Linked DNA regions of Homo sapiens: all the other regions are linked to region 1. Evidence: promoter capture Hi-C in 16 types of primary human blood cells and fetal thymus (Javierre and others, 2016). All regions are on one chromosome and are shown on one strand. Each heading gives the region's core, a stretch centred on a gene start or on the middle of the fragment in contact. The rest is flanking DNA. Distances are from core to core; before and after follow the strand shown.

Region 1 (4,936 bases), core at 1,009-3,508:
GGCAAAACCCATGTTGTATTTTTCTACAAGAAATACACAAAATATATATATATGTATCCGGGCATGGTGGCACATGCCTGTAGTCCCAGCTACTCGGGAGGCTGAGGTAGGAGGATCACCTGAGCCCATGGAGGTTGAGGCTGCAGTGAGCTGTGTTCACGCCACTGCACTCCAACCTGAGTGACACAGTGAAGTGGCTTCAAAAAAATAAACAAAAAAACCAGATGCAAAACATAATAAACACCCCATTTGATTTTAGCTCACTAGTGGTAATTTGAGAGAAAAGATGATTTAAGATGCTATTCAACAATTGGAGAGATTTGACGTGGGCTATGATAATGGCATTGTGGTTACATAGGAGAATGTCTTTGTCCTTAGGAGACAGATGCTGAGGTGCTCAGGGGGGAAGCATCTGGATGTTTGTAATTGATTCTCAAATGACTCAGGGGTGGAGGAAAGTATCTGTCCAGAGAAAGAGAAAGCAAATGTGGAGATGTTCGCAATTAGTGAATCTAGTCGAAAGGCAGACTGGTGTTCATTGCACTATTCTTGCCACTTTTCTGTAGATCTGAAATATTTTTTAAAAGATGTTTAAAAAAAGATAGTTCTTGTTATGATTAAGCACAAACGCCTACTTCCTCCCAGGAAAACAGAACATATGTGTAAAAACACTGGCAATTTTCTAAAATCTTGATTAAAATGCATTGCCAAAATCAGAATATTTTTGTGTAAAATCTTATAACTAAAAATAAAATGCCTGTCTTTACTCCAACCAGTGAGTTAATACATATTCTATATTGGTGCATAGCAAAGTCAAAGAATCCATAATAAAAACAAGAAGAATATATACAAGACAGCAAAGACACATGGAATGATAAATGCTCAAGACTGGCGGGAAGCTTTTAAGGAATTCTATTAGATTTCCCATTTGTTCTCCAATGTAAATAAGGCCCTAGAATTTTAGAGCTGAGAAACATCAGGGAGAAATACAGTCCCAATAGTCCAGTCCTCAGTTTGTAGGTGATATAAGGCAGAGTCAGGGAAAATTCTATAAGTGTGGAAGTGTACAAGTGTTTCAAAGCTGTAAAGTGCTCTTAAAATCCACCTGGAACCCCTTCCTGTGAGTTACAATCAGCATTAGATCAATGTCCCTTGGAAATGTCCTACTTATTTCATGGAACTCTTTCCAGTAGAAATCAATCTCCTTGGCAATTTTAAATCATGGCAGTTACAAAAAGTTTGAAGTATTTCCAACTGAACAAGAGTAAGTCGAGTGTTCTCACAAGTTTTTCGAATGATCACGAAATATATTTGGTAAGGAAAAGGATAATGAGAAATAAAAAGCAGACACAGGACCAACAAATAATGAAAGAGCTGAAAAAATGACCATGTTACTCAATATTGATTTGCCAAATAAAACCACAAATTACTGAGTATCTTCTTTCCACTTCTTAAACCTGCTTCTGAAGCAATACTTCCATTCATTCATTCATGTATTCAAATATTTAAGCTGCTAATATGTAAAGACATCAGAAGGACTTCAATGGCCATACCGTAATTTTTTAAACTATGTAATATTGTCCTTCTATGACAGCATTTTTTCTTTTTTACAGACAGGATCTCACTCTGTCACCCAGGCTGGAGTGCAGTGGCACAATCATGGCTCACTGTTGCCTCAACCTCCCAGGCTTAAGGAATCCTCCCACCTCAGCCTCTACAGTAGCTGGGACTACAGGCATGTACCATCACACCTGGCTGATTTTTTAAATTTTTCAGTAGAAATGTCTTGCTGTGTTGACCAGGCTGGTATCAAACTCCTCACCTCAAGCAATCCTCCTGCCTCGGCCTCCCAAAGTGCTGGGATTACAGGCATGAGCTACCGCACAGGGCAGCATTTATTTTTTCTGGATATGAAGAAAGTTATTTTTTAAAGCCTAAATATGCAACTAAATTGAAAAGAATCCTCTATATCTAAGCTTTATGAAATGTGAACTGTGAGCAAATATAATTCTACATTGGAGGGAAAATATAATCTCAGGGGGAAAAAAATCCAAGCTTACGACTCTGAACCATGAAGCAACTGTCGAGATGGACCTTTACTGGATCTTGCCCTTAATTATGGGGTTCATGCAGTCTTAAGCCTGAGTTTCAAAAACCATTAATAATTACCCTTAAATGGCCAACAAAAGGAAATTTTCATAATCAGGGTGGCGTGCCCGTAAAGACTATAAAAGTGTCATGATTCTGCTCAGCTCTTCAAACTCCTCTTTGATTCTTCTAGCTGTTTCACTATTGGGCAACCAGGTTAGTGTGATTTTGGTACTACCTAGAGCTCCTTCTGTTTGCATTAATACTCTGCTTCCTTTTAGAATGGTGTGAAAGATAATGGTCTGGAGAGAAGGTGAGTTTATGCCATCTGGAGATATTCCCTGTAACTTAGAAGCTAGAAGCTGTGGTCAAGTATTCTTCAAGACCACAGCCTGCAGAGTGCAGATCAGGTACATAAAAAGTGTAGAATGTCATTAATTACTAATAAAAATGTTTGGCTCCAGGGACCATCTCCTAACAGATGTACTCTAAGAACAGACATTTAACATACTATCTAAGATGTCTTTTTTTTTTTTTTTTTTTTTTTGCAGCGGAGGCTCGCTCTGTCACCCAGGCTGGAGTGCAGTGGCATCGCACTCACTGCAACCTCCGCCTCCCGGGTTCAAGCGATTCTCCTGCCTCGGTCTTCCAAGTAGATGGGACTATAGGCACGCACCACCACGCCTGGCTAATTTTTGTATAGAGACAGGGTCTCACCATGTTGGCCAGGCTTCCATGGTCTCGAACTCCTGACTTCAAGTGATCCACCCTCCTTGGCCTCCCAAAGTGCTGGGATTACAGGCATGAGCTACCGTGCCTGGCCTAAGATGCTTATTTTTTAAACATGTTAGTAGTTACTGGTGCCATTCCGACCCCGACATTCTCTTTTCCTTATTCTTCCCCATTTATGCCAAGGAAATGGCCCAATGGCACTAAAATCCTGCAGACAACCCTCAGCACAAAACTGTACTTCAGCTTTTTGGTAAGTTTATTTTCTTCCCAATTTATAAGACACCAGAATGAGTACTAAAAAGTCTCCTGAGGAACTGAAGAGGATTTTTGAAAAATATGCAGCCAAAGAAGGTGATCCAGACCAGTTGTCAAAGGATGAACTGAAGCTATTGATTCAGGCTGAATTCCCCAGTTTACTCAAAGTAAGTGGCCATCCGCAGAGCCCACTTAATGGGACTGATGGTGGGAGGGGAGGGAGGGAGGGGAGAGGACTCCGGTAGAGCCTTATAGGGACCGTCGCTTGAGGGAGGACACATGCAGGTGGGGTTTCTTCCCCTTAAGTCAGGCCACATTTCAGAAGGCAAGCTCTCAGAAAACAAGGGCCAAGCCTTCTATCCCTCCTGCAGCCTCAGCACAGGACTCTGCAGGACTAGCCATAATAAATGGAAGCAATGCCAAGTTATGCCTGGAAGACCCACAAGTCACCAAGCAAACCCAATAAGGCCTTCAGCATGGATTCAGTACTTCTGTGCCAGGCTTTAGGAAAACAAAGAGGACTGCAAAATAGTGTTAGCTGGCCTTGGACAGGCTTCATTTGTGTATGTAAAATCCCTCAACAAGACCAACACTTACTTAGCAGTCTGTTAGGAAAACCCACTGACAAATTGCCTTGTCAGCACTCATTTATATTTCAAAAGCATTTACATTTGTGTTCATCACTTAAATTTGTGTTAATGAGGCAACCGTGCATTTCTAAACAACTTTCAAGAAAGGACTAAATTTCCTGGGCCATAAAGTTTCACATCAAAATCACCCCAGAGTTGTCAAAATCAAAATGCATTCAAGGCAACAGAGTACAGAGAAGAGCTGATCGTCCTCACTCCAATATACAGTACTGTCTTTCCTTTTGCTAAAGAAAAAGCTGAGTCAGGACACTTGCCAAGGATGGTAAGGCAACTTACTCCAGGAGGGCCATGGCGACCCATACAGGGACCACTGAAACGTGTTCTTGCCATGGGGAGAGAGATTGGGCTCAACTCCAGAAAGGATAAGTGGGGGTTTATGACCATAGAGCAGGATGGGGGGGGCCAGTGGATGGAAAATTACCAAGGAAATATCCAGGATAAGGAGCTTCTGGCTAAATTGCCTTGATAGGATTCTAGCTGAAGGCAGGCCAGGTGATCAAATATTAAGGGTAGTCAGATACAAGGACAGAGAGGGAAGCCCAAGGTCAGGCCTAGTCGAGCAGAGGACTCAAAGGAGAGAGTCATTGTCATTTTGCAATTAAAAACCATCTTCACAACAGAAGTGACTATGGAATTGTTTTGTATGACTCAGTCACTATTTAGCTCTAACTTCAGGAAAGAACATTTCTTCAAATATTTTAACCAGCTCTCCAGATTTTAACCAGAAATGTCCCTTCTGCCAATATGACAATTGGAAAGACTTCTGTTTTTAATACTAAAAAAGAAAAAAGCTGAATTCAATGACCCCAGAATCTGATATTTTCTCATTTTCTCATAGTTGAAATATAGAAGAACTTGTAAAAACACTTAAAGTCACTAGCAGAAAAAGGGACTTTTTAATTAAACAGCAAAACAAGTTAGTGAAAAAATTTAAAATTTTAAAAGACCCTTTATTTTTTCTAAAAGGAAGAAAAATAATCATCTAACAGGAAAGCCTAGGCCATGTACTCAAACAAGTTGTTTCAAAAGGTAACACGGGTAACTTTTTCTATATTTTATGTCTTTCCTACAAAAAGTACGTAAGACATAATCTGGAACGAGGTAGGAAGACTAATGGTAAGTTCTGAAAGTCTACTTAACATGTACCTGATTATATTCCCATAAGGTTTCCATTACTAAGGTTTTCCACCATACTCTGTTTACATATATCA
Region 2 (4,936 bases), core at 1,638-4,137, 950 kb before region 1:
GAGCGCAGTTCTACAGAAACTTGCCTTGTCCAGCTGGAAAGAACAATGACCCACATCCTTCAGGTTGGATGCCTTTGTCCAGCCCCCCAAGATTATTTCTTCTATATTCAGAATCTCAAAGGGCTGTGCTCTGGAGGCCCATATATTGTCTCCTTCTCCCTTTCATCCCCCACTGTATCCTTCTGGTCCCCACCTCTTTCCCCCTGCTTTCCTCTCCATTTCCCTCTTTTTTCCTCTCTCCCCTTTTAGTCCAGGTTTCTGGCTCCTCCTGATCTGCATTTCATTTTTTGTTTGTTTCTATCAACTTTTATTTTAGATACAGGGGGTACCATGTGCAAGTTTGTTACATAAGTATGTTGCATGATGGTGAGGTTTGGGGTACAGATTCCATCACTCAGGTAATGAGCACAGTACCAAATGGGTAGTTTTTTAACCCTCTCCCCCCTCCAGTAACCCCCAGTGTCTATTGTTCCCATCTTTATATCTGTGTGCTCAATGTTTAGTTCTCTCAAGAACATGCAGCATTTGGTTTTCTGTTCCTGCATTAATTCGCTTAGGATGATGGCTTCCAGCTGCATCCATGTTGCTGCAAAGGACATTATTTCATTTTTTATGGCTGTGTAGTATTCCATAGTGTATATATTACATTTTCTTTATCCAGTCCGCCGCTGATGGGCACCTAGGTTGATTCTGTGTCTTTGCTATTGTGAATAGTGTGACAGTGAACATATGAGTGCATGTGTCTTTTTGGCAAAATGATTTATTTTCCTTTGGGTTTATATCCAGTAATGGTATTGCTGCATTAAATGGTAGCTCTGTTTTTAGTTATTTGAGAAATCTACAAACTACTTTCCATAGTGGCTGAACTAATTTACATTCCCACCAACAGTGTATATGCATTCCCTTTTTGCCACAGCCTCACCAACATCTGTTGTTTTTTGACTTTTTAATAATAGCCATTCTGACTGTTTTAAGATGGTATCTCGTTGCGGTTTTGATTTGTACTTTTCTGATGATTACTGATGATGAGCATTTTTCATGTTTGTTGGCTACTTGTATGTCCTGAGAAATGTCTGTTCATGTCCTTTGTCCCTTTTTTAATGGGGTTGTTTTTCTGCATTGCATTTTAAAAGGAAAATTCTCAGTCTCCCTTGAAGAAGTGAAGCCTCCTTCTTTATGCACTGGCCACTGTCTAATACCTCCCAGCAATACTCAGAGGAGACTACCTGCTGGAACCTCACTAGAATTGAGAGATCAAATGGTTTTGGCTGTTTTCCCACTGGAGAATATAAAAAATACACAGTTAATTTTAGAAACAAAGGCTGGGCATGATTCCATCCTAAGCAGCAATTCTTCAGGTAGCTGCCCAGAAGGGCCTGGAGCTCCTCTGGACCACTGCTGATCTCCAGATACTCCCTGAGAACCGTCACCTCGGCGTCCAATTCCTGAGTGGTTTTCACTACTAAATAATGACTCAGTGACCCAGTCTCTTGGCCAGGACGCTGTTATGGAATTTGGGTCGTTTGGCACTTCCTGCCTGGTGCCCACCTGTCTAGATTACTGGACCCAAGTAGGTCCAGTATCTCCCTGGTCCAGCCCTGTCTTGAGTCCATCACCTTTATCATTAAGAAGCAGCCAGTAGAGGTTGATGATGATCAGGTACGTTCTCTCCACAATTTTCATCTAAGGAAATCCTCGTCTCCCCTTTTAAAACAAGGCTGGGCTCAGACTGTGGCATCAGTTTTAACATCTTGTAATGCTTATACATTTTTATTGAAGTGTACCAACGTCTTATCTCAGTTTGGACATGAATTTAGAGATATTTCAAATTAGCTAGAGAGAAGAGTTAAAACATAGAAGAACATAAGCTTTTTACATCTATATTTGACAGTGACATATGTTTTTATTATACATGCATTGTGTAGATTCTCTATGAAAATTAAGACCCTTTTAAATAAAAAAACGAAGGCTGGAAATGGGTGTATTCAAAACCCTTTAAAATCCTTAAGGGAGTTTTGCTATAGAATCTCAGGATAAAGACAGACTCCGACAATATTCATCCAGAAATTTTCATGTAAGTCAGTTGTTTGAAACTTGGGATTTATTTTTCTCTTAGAAACTAAGTCTAAGTGGTGGTTACTACATCAGCACACAAAATCCTGTTTAATTCATAAACTAAACTGTAATAATAACTGCGTTTACTTGTTCATATTGGATTTTTATTGACTAAAAGCTTCCAGCCTCTTTTTCATGCAGCCAGGATAACAGTGATACCAAAACCTATCAAAGATTAGACCATCCTACCCCCAAAATATAACAATAGGCCAATATCTCTAAAAAATATGTAACAACAGAAAAAAAAGCTAAATAAAATAGTAGAAATAGAATCTAGCAGTGCATTAGAAGAAATATATACTTTGTCCAGGTAGGGTTTATTCCAGTAATCCACAGATGGTTCAGTACTAAGAATGATATACTTACAATTAATGGATTTCATCCCATCAACAAATCTATATGATCATTTCCATGGATTTCCTAAAATACGTTAGACAAAACCCACCATCCCTTTAAAAATTTTTTTAATAAAACAGAAATGAAGAATTCCCTAACTGGATGAAGTAGATTTATCTCAGCTCAAAAATAAATAGTATGTTTAATGTGGAAAGGATATCATTAACTCCATGGTTATTAGCATACTAAATATTAAATTTAATTGAATTAACCTCTGGCAGGAGCCAATAAAGTTAGGCCAAAAAACATAAAGAACATTAGAGAAACACTAAAAACTCCTACAAAGATAATTCAGCAATTAGTGGAGTACCATGTCAATTTATAGAAATCAATTCCGTTGGCATATATAACTCACAGTTAGTTAAAAGACATAACAGAAGAAGGAAACCTACTTATAATAGAAACTAAAATAATGTTAATAAACAACATAAAATGTTAAGAAAGCTATAAAACATTTCTGAGGGACACAGAAGACTTGACTTTATAAAATTCATACCCTGTTTTTACATAGGAAGATATTATAAAGACACCTTTGATGTCAGTTCTCCTTAAGTTGATTCCATAAATTTAATATGGTTTTAATAAAAATACCAACAGAATTTTAAAACTAGATATAGTACTTCTAGAGTTCATGTGGAAAAGCAGATAAGCATGAATAGCTGGAAAAATTCTAAAGGAGGAAAATAAGGAATGATTAGACCCATAAGGCTTTAAAGCCACAATAATTAAATAGTATGATACTAGCACATGAATAGGAAGATAAATCAAGGAAGAAAATAGTTCAGAAATATGTCCAAATACATGAGAATTTACTTTATGGTAAAGATAGGATCTCAGCTCAATGCAGGAAAAGATAAATCCAGTAAATGGCATTGGGGGACAACTGAGCAGGCATTTAGGAGAAAAAGTTGGACCCATCGTTCAATCCTGACAAAAATATATTCTGGATGGAACAAAACTTTAAAGGTAAAAAAATGCCATAGAAGTACGAGGATAAGCATAGGAAAATTCTTTCATACATCCAAGTGGAGGAAGCTTTTCTAACTATAAATCAAAACCCAGAAGTAATCAAGAAAACAACTAGCAATTAGACTACATACAAAAATTTTAAAATCCTTTCTGATGAAAATCACCGTAAACAAAAGATAAATGACAAACAGGGAAAACATTTGCAACTCTGTTCCCTCATTCAGCTACTATTTATTCAATGCCTACTATATGCCAGCTACTCTTCTAGGTGTTTGAGACATCATAGTGAACAAAACAGAGAGTTAATTGCCCTAATATACAAAGAGTTTCTAGAAATCAGTTTTTAGATAATCAACAGCAAATGGTATAAACAGACAGCTTACAGTTAAGGAAACAAGAAACCCAATACCATGTGAAAAAATTTTCAGCCTTGCTTATAAAAAGTGACGAAACAAGATGAAACTACACTGAAATACAAATTTTCACATATCAGATTAGCAGAAACCCCAAAATTGTATTGCTCACAGTGCTGGTACAAGTGTGGAGCATGGGCAGCCTCATGTGTTACTGGTAGGTGGTAATGACACATGAATAAAGATATAATAGGCTAAAAAGTATGTTGTTTTACTAATAGTTAATTACAATATCAAAGGAAGATACAATGCTAAGTTGGTACTATTGTAGTAGCTATCAGAGTGCAGTTTACCAAACAGCAATTTATCCTACACATAAACTGCAGACCTAAACAATAATACATATACATAGTTATTCTTTGCACCATTGTTTGCAAACAACCTAAATACCAGTCACCTCTATGGCATTCCTCCTCCAAAATTTGTATTCCCTCATCTAAATCATGAGAAAAGACAAAACCAAACTGAAAAAGGACTTCTACAAAATACATCACCAGCCGTCTTCAAAAGCATCAAGGTCATGAAAAACAAGGCAGAAAAACTCCAGAGTGGAGGAGACCAAGGAGGAGTAGGTTCTGGAGAAGACAAAGGACACTTGGGCAATCTAAAGTCTGGAGTTCACTTAACAGTATCAACCCAATGTTAATTTCTTAGTTTGATGAATGCATCGTGATTATATAACATTAGAGGAAGCTGGATGAAAGGTCTCAACCTCAGCACCACTGACATTGAGGGCAGATCATTCTTGGTTGTGGAGACTGTCCTGTGCATTGCAGGATGTTTAATTGCATCCCTGGCCTCGACTCACTGAGTGCCTATAGTACCACCTCCCCAGGTCATGACAACCAAAAATGTCTCCAGACATTCTCCACTGTCAATTGCAAACTCACCCCTTGTTGAACACCACTGATAGACACTAATCCCTAATATCAACTAACCAATGAAATGCTGTACCTCTTGTTGTATGAGAAGAAGAAACAGACATCTTCTCAAGTCTATGAGAATGGCTTTTAACTAATCAACACCTTGATTAACCAGTAGAA
Region 3 (4,936 bases), core at 810-3,309, 930 kb before region 1:
CTCCTGACCACCCAAGATAAAGAAGTCCCTGCCATCCCACCCCACCATATCATATCATTATCAAGGTAGTTAGTAGTTCTTTTCGTTTGTAACGTGTTTACCATCAATTTCTCCATTGGTCTACAGATGCCATGAAGAGCATTTCCTAAGGACACTCAAGTTGTCACTTGTGTGTTCCAATTTTGGCTTGGGAAATTTTGTGCACCGTGGGCCTAACAGCCATCTTTTATGTCACTGTGACCTATGCAGTTGGCTGCTACTTTTTCATGCAACTACACACAAGTAAAGGTGCAAGTATGTAGACAGTGGTGGCCCCAGGGGATGGTTTGGGGAGAATTTAGCCCATGACAAGTTCCATCAGTACTTCTCTCATAGGCACTCCATATAAATGTGAGATCTCAGTGAAAGGGGAGCTTGCTGCCAAAATGTAGTTTCAACACAAGTCCCGTATAATCTCTCCACCCATCAACAAAGAAAATTTGAAGCCACCACTGTCTGTGAGGGTAGGCTTTCTCATTGACTACTGAAAACTAGAAGGAATGTTTCATATATCATTAATGGCTATTTTGCTCATAGGATGGAATTTTTTTTTTTTTTTTGAGACAGGGTTTTTCTATGTCACCCAGGCTGGAGTGCAGTGATATGATCATAGGTCACTGCTGCCTTGAACTCCTGGACTCAAGTGATTCTTCCTACTCAGCCTCCCAAGTAGGTGGGACAACAGGTACACACCACCGTGCCCAATTAATTTTTTAAAAATGTTTTGTAGAGACGGGGTCTCACTTTGTACTCAGACTGGTATTGAATTCTTGGTTTCAAGTTATCCTTCCACCTCAGCCTCCCAAAGTGTTAGGATTACAGGTGTGAGCCACTGTGCCCAGCCAGGATGGATTTCAAACTAATTTACATTGCAGTGAAACAACTCCCTTGGGCATGAAGGAAGAACTGGCTTTAGATGTTCCCTTGTACTATCTGTAATATAACTTCAGATAGGAAAAGAATAACTTGCTGAAATACAAATAAAATCCAAATCCTCATTTCGGTGAAGAATTTTAGGATTCTCTTTCCTCAAAGTTATTTTCATAAATATAAGGAAAAATAAATTTGAGTTTCACTATCCCCTTGGTGCCTTTCCCTGCTTAAGTAGCAGAAGCACACAAAGACCTCTAATCTACAAACTTGAAAATCAAGAAAGACTATTGTTGATTAAGAGTTGGTACATGCTGTAAAGATAGGGAAGGCTTATTAACACAATGTAGAGATGATGAATGAGCCTGTTCAAGTGTAGATAACAATGATAAGCTCAGAGCAGCAGATAAAAATGAAGATCCTACCTCCCAGGATGGCATCTGGAAGTGGATAGTATTCTGCCAGCTTTGGAAACTGGATGAAAAGCAAATCTGGCAGAGGTACCCATTTCATTCCCAGCTTGCTCAGTAGCTGGTGATTGGAAGAAACTCTGCAACAGTGTTCAATCCCTGGACAGGAAACCCTCCTTCCATGATTCTTCTTTAACATGGGTCTGAGAAAAAGAGAAATACAGTATTTTTTAAAATGAAGATGCTAGCCAACTCTCACCAGAACACATACTTAAATTGTTTTTCAGATCTTGAGGATGATTTAACCTGATCTGTCCTTTCATTGATTCCTCTTAAAACCAAGAGCTTGAGCTGGCTGGGTAGGGGTCCAGTTTTGGTCACAAAAGAAAGCCCCAAGCTATTTAGATCAGAACAGGATTGATGTAGTTCTAGATTGGGTTGGGTATCCTGCCAGTGGAACCAACTTATCCTGGGCAAGTGTGAACAGATTGAAAGCTTGTTCATTGAAATACATAGCATACTTCTCCTAGGGCATTCAAAACATTTCAAAGAAAGAGCCTCCATGCATAAGTGAAATTGAGCATATATACTAATGAGAAGGTGTACAACTCACAAGAGGATAAGGAAAGAGATAATAGCTCTCAACATATGTATACTCTGTGACCCAAATTTCTATTCCTAAGTAAATACCCAAGAAAAAGCATACAGAAAAAACACGTACAAGAAGGTCCATAGCAGTTTAGCCACCTGTTGTGCATGTATCTGACACATAATAGGTGCTCAATAAATGTATATAATTGAACATATCTTTATATCCCACATATGGTTTCACAGGCCAAGTGACACATACTAGTTGTGTCATCAGTTCATACTTCTAGCATGTACTATAAATACTTTAATAAAAACCATTTTATTAACAATTTCCATTTTAGTCTATTATTGCTTTAATAAAACATTGGAATGAGGTCTTTAGGAATGATTTACTCAAGCTTAAGATAACTATGCAGAAGGGCCCAGCAATAAAGAAAGTGTTATTAGAAAGCAATTTTTTCAAAATGAACACTCAGGTACTTCACTTACCGTTTTAGTTGCCAGAGCTGCTCTGTCTCACTCTAAAAGCATTTTCTTGCAAAGGGGTTGGTTTTGATCAACCCAAAAATCTGGCAGCTGTGAAAATCAAAGTTAATGCTATAGAACAGCGTTGTCCAATGGGACATTCTGTGATGATGGGAATGTTCTGTGTCTGTATATGGCAGCCACTACACATAGATGGCTATTGAGCACTCGAAAGAGTGGTAATAATGACAAAATGTGTCAAACAGAGCCCAGTGATTCCTAATATTTTATGCAACTGGAATGAACAAAAAACAGATCTACAACTGAATGGCTCCAAATTATTTACTGAAAGTTTACCCTCTGTCATTTTAGGTGGTTTAATATTTTCTGTTGAAACTCATAAAACAGTCACAGGCTCAAATTTCAAGCCTCAACACATCTGCAAATTTAGAGAAATAACAAGTCCTTTAAATCAAAGATGCACTCAACAGAAAACTGGTTTGTTTTTGTTTATTTTTTTTATTTTTGCTTGGAACAGAGCTGGATGCAAAATTAGGTTGTTTATTGCTGTTTTTTAATATTATTTTTATTGCTGTTTTGACAGTGGTTATTGTCCAGCCTTTTCTCTTACTGGCCCATGTTAATGTATTTTTAAGTTTCAAGGCTAACTACCTGGTTGACAGAGTTCCACCTGAATAGCAATTTCTGGCCAGGCACGGTGACTCATGCCTGTAATCCCAACACTTTGGGAGGTGGATCACTTGAGGTCAGGAGTTCGAGACCAGCCTGCCCAACATGGTGAAACCCTGTCTCCACTAAAAACACAAAAATTAGCCGGGCGTGGTGGCGGGCGCCTGTAATCCCAGCTACTTGGGAGTTTGAGGCTGGAGAATTGCTTGAACACGATCTCATCACTGCACTCCAGCCTGGGCCACAGAGTGAAACTTCATCTCGAAAGAAAGAGAGAGAGAGAGAGAGGGAGGGAGGGAGGGAGGGAGGGAGGGAAGAATAGCAGTTACCAGGAAAAGAGGTCACAACATCCTTTTGGAATAGAAAACAAAAGGCAAACAAAAAAGGAAGAAAAACCCACTCTGCACTTAAAGCTGCCTGAGCCATTCTGTGACCCAGATTAAAATATCAGAAAAAGAACAAAGCCACCACCTAAAAGGTTTAATGATTAACACCCATCATTTGGGTTAATATTTTCATAGAAGTCACCTGTCTCCTGTCAGTTATTTATGGAAATCTACAGATTCGTTGTTTTTTTCCAGACTCTACCTCAAAAGAATGTTTCCTCTGCTGACTCAAAGTTGGAATCCTTCCCTCACCCCTTCTGCGAGTCTCTGGTTACGTGTATGATGGGAAGAATTGAGTCCTATCTAGAGGTTTTTTGGCATGCACCTTCCACCTTTTCGGGGCTAGGATACCTGGTTCATAGACAGACTATCTTCATTCAGGAAACAAACGTGACTCCTTTCTCTCTGGTAAACAAAGGGTGCCCTTCCATGAAGGGCCTCACCTGACTCACCACAGCGGGTGAACATCCCAGGAGAGCTTCAGAGCTTCCTCTTACCTACTTGAGGGTAGAGGGTGGGAGGAGGGAGAGGATCGAAAAACTACCTATCGAATACTGTACTTATTGTCTGGGTGACAAAATAATCTGTACACCAGACTCCCGTGACACACAATTTACCTATATAACACACTTGCACATGTACCCCTGAACCTAAAATAAAAGTTAAAAAAGAACGCTGAAGTTGCAACAAAACCTCAGAGATGCTCTGAGAATTAAGATAATGAGTGTAAAAGAATCTTTCCCCGTGGGCATTCCACAGATGCCAATCGACGCCCCGCCCAGAGGTTGATGTCAGGGCTTTCCTCTCTACCATGCTGCCTCTTCATAAATTCAGTCCCCAAATTCTACCCCATTCCTCGAAAATCATGAATGGCAGAATTAGATTGGGTGACCTTGGTGTTAAATAGAAATATTGGATTTTCAAAGCAACAACGAGGAAAATATCAACAATGAGACTTCTGCAGCACTTTGAGAAACACATCATTTCTTCCTCCTTGCAAGGGTGGTATTTTATTGTAAAGGACCCATGTCCATCAGCTAAATCCAACTGAGGAAGCTTTTTCTCTCTCCTTCATCTTGGTCGCAAGGACACGGAGTCAGGAAAAGCTGTACTAAAAGAAGAGGGAGCCACAACTTAGTCCAGCCATCCTAGCAATGTCACTATATTAAGTGCAATGGAAATTTCCAGAAGGAAGAGCTCACCTAGCTAACCCCTGGAAAAAAAAAAAAAAAAGCCAGACTAGATGAAGTCATCTTGGGAAATGTTAAACTAAGTAAAGTCATGATGGTAAGGAAAAATCAATATACATAGAGATAGAGATTATAACAAAGCATTTTATTTGCATCAAGGAAGAAAGCTATGCTAAGGACATAGAAACCTGCTTCAGCTTTCCTTTAGCCTTACACTTCATAAAAGTATCAAGTGGCTTTCTTTGGCTTTTGCTTAGTCATCTATATAGCTAGGGTTGAAGACAGTAAAACACTG

The links. Contacts are between HindIII fragments. The CHiCAGO score rates a contact against its expected background, and 5 or more counts as called.
Region 2: a contact is called between a fragment that was not itself captured here and the fragment with the promoter of S100G in region 1, in 1 of 17 cell types (activated CD4 T cells). The highest score is 5.6, in activated CD4 T cells.
Region 3: a fragment that was not itself captured here is called in contact with the fragment with the promoter of S100G in region 1 in 1 of 17 cell types (naive CD4 T cells); the score reaches 5.3 in naive CD4 T cells.

What each region holds. Positions count from the first base shown.
Region 1 is chrX:16,647,900-16,652,835 of GRCh38, forward strand. S100G (S100 calcium binding protein G) reads left to right here and starts at 2,259. Exons shown (of 3, transcript NM_004057.3): 1 at 2,259-2,304; 2 at 3,100-3,242. The coding sequence starts at 3,108. The region is part of intron 13 of CTPS2 (CTP synthase 2); the gene reads right to left. The HindIII fragment of the contact is 12,685 bases long and covers 2,054-4,936 here.
Region 2 is chrX:15,696,107-15,701,042 of GRCh38, forward strand. The region is part of intron 3 of CA5BP1-CA5B (CA5BP1-CA5B readthrough); the gene reads left to right. It also overlaps the pseudogene CA5BP1. Among named protein-coding and RNA genes, the nearest start is that of CA5BP1-CA5B, 23 kb to the left of the region's middle. The HindIII fragment of the contact is 1,313 bases long and covers 2,232-3,544 here.
Region 3 is chrX:15,714,877-15,719,812 of GRCh38, forward strand. The region is part of intron 3 of CA5BP1-CA5B (CA5BP1-CA5B readthrough); the gene reads left to right. It overlaps LOC124905268 (small nucleolar RNA SNORA7), which reads left to right and starts at 1,332; the gene lies at 1,332-1,470. The HindIII fragment of the contact is 494 bases long and covers 1,813-2,306 here.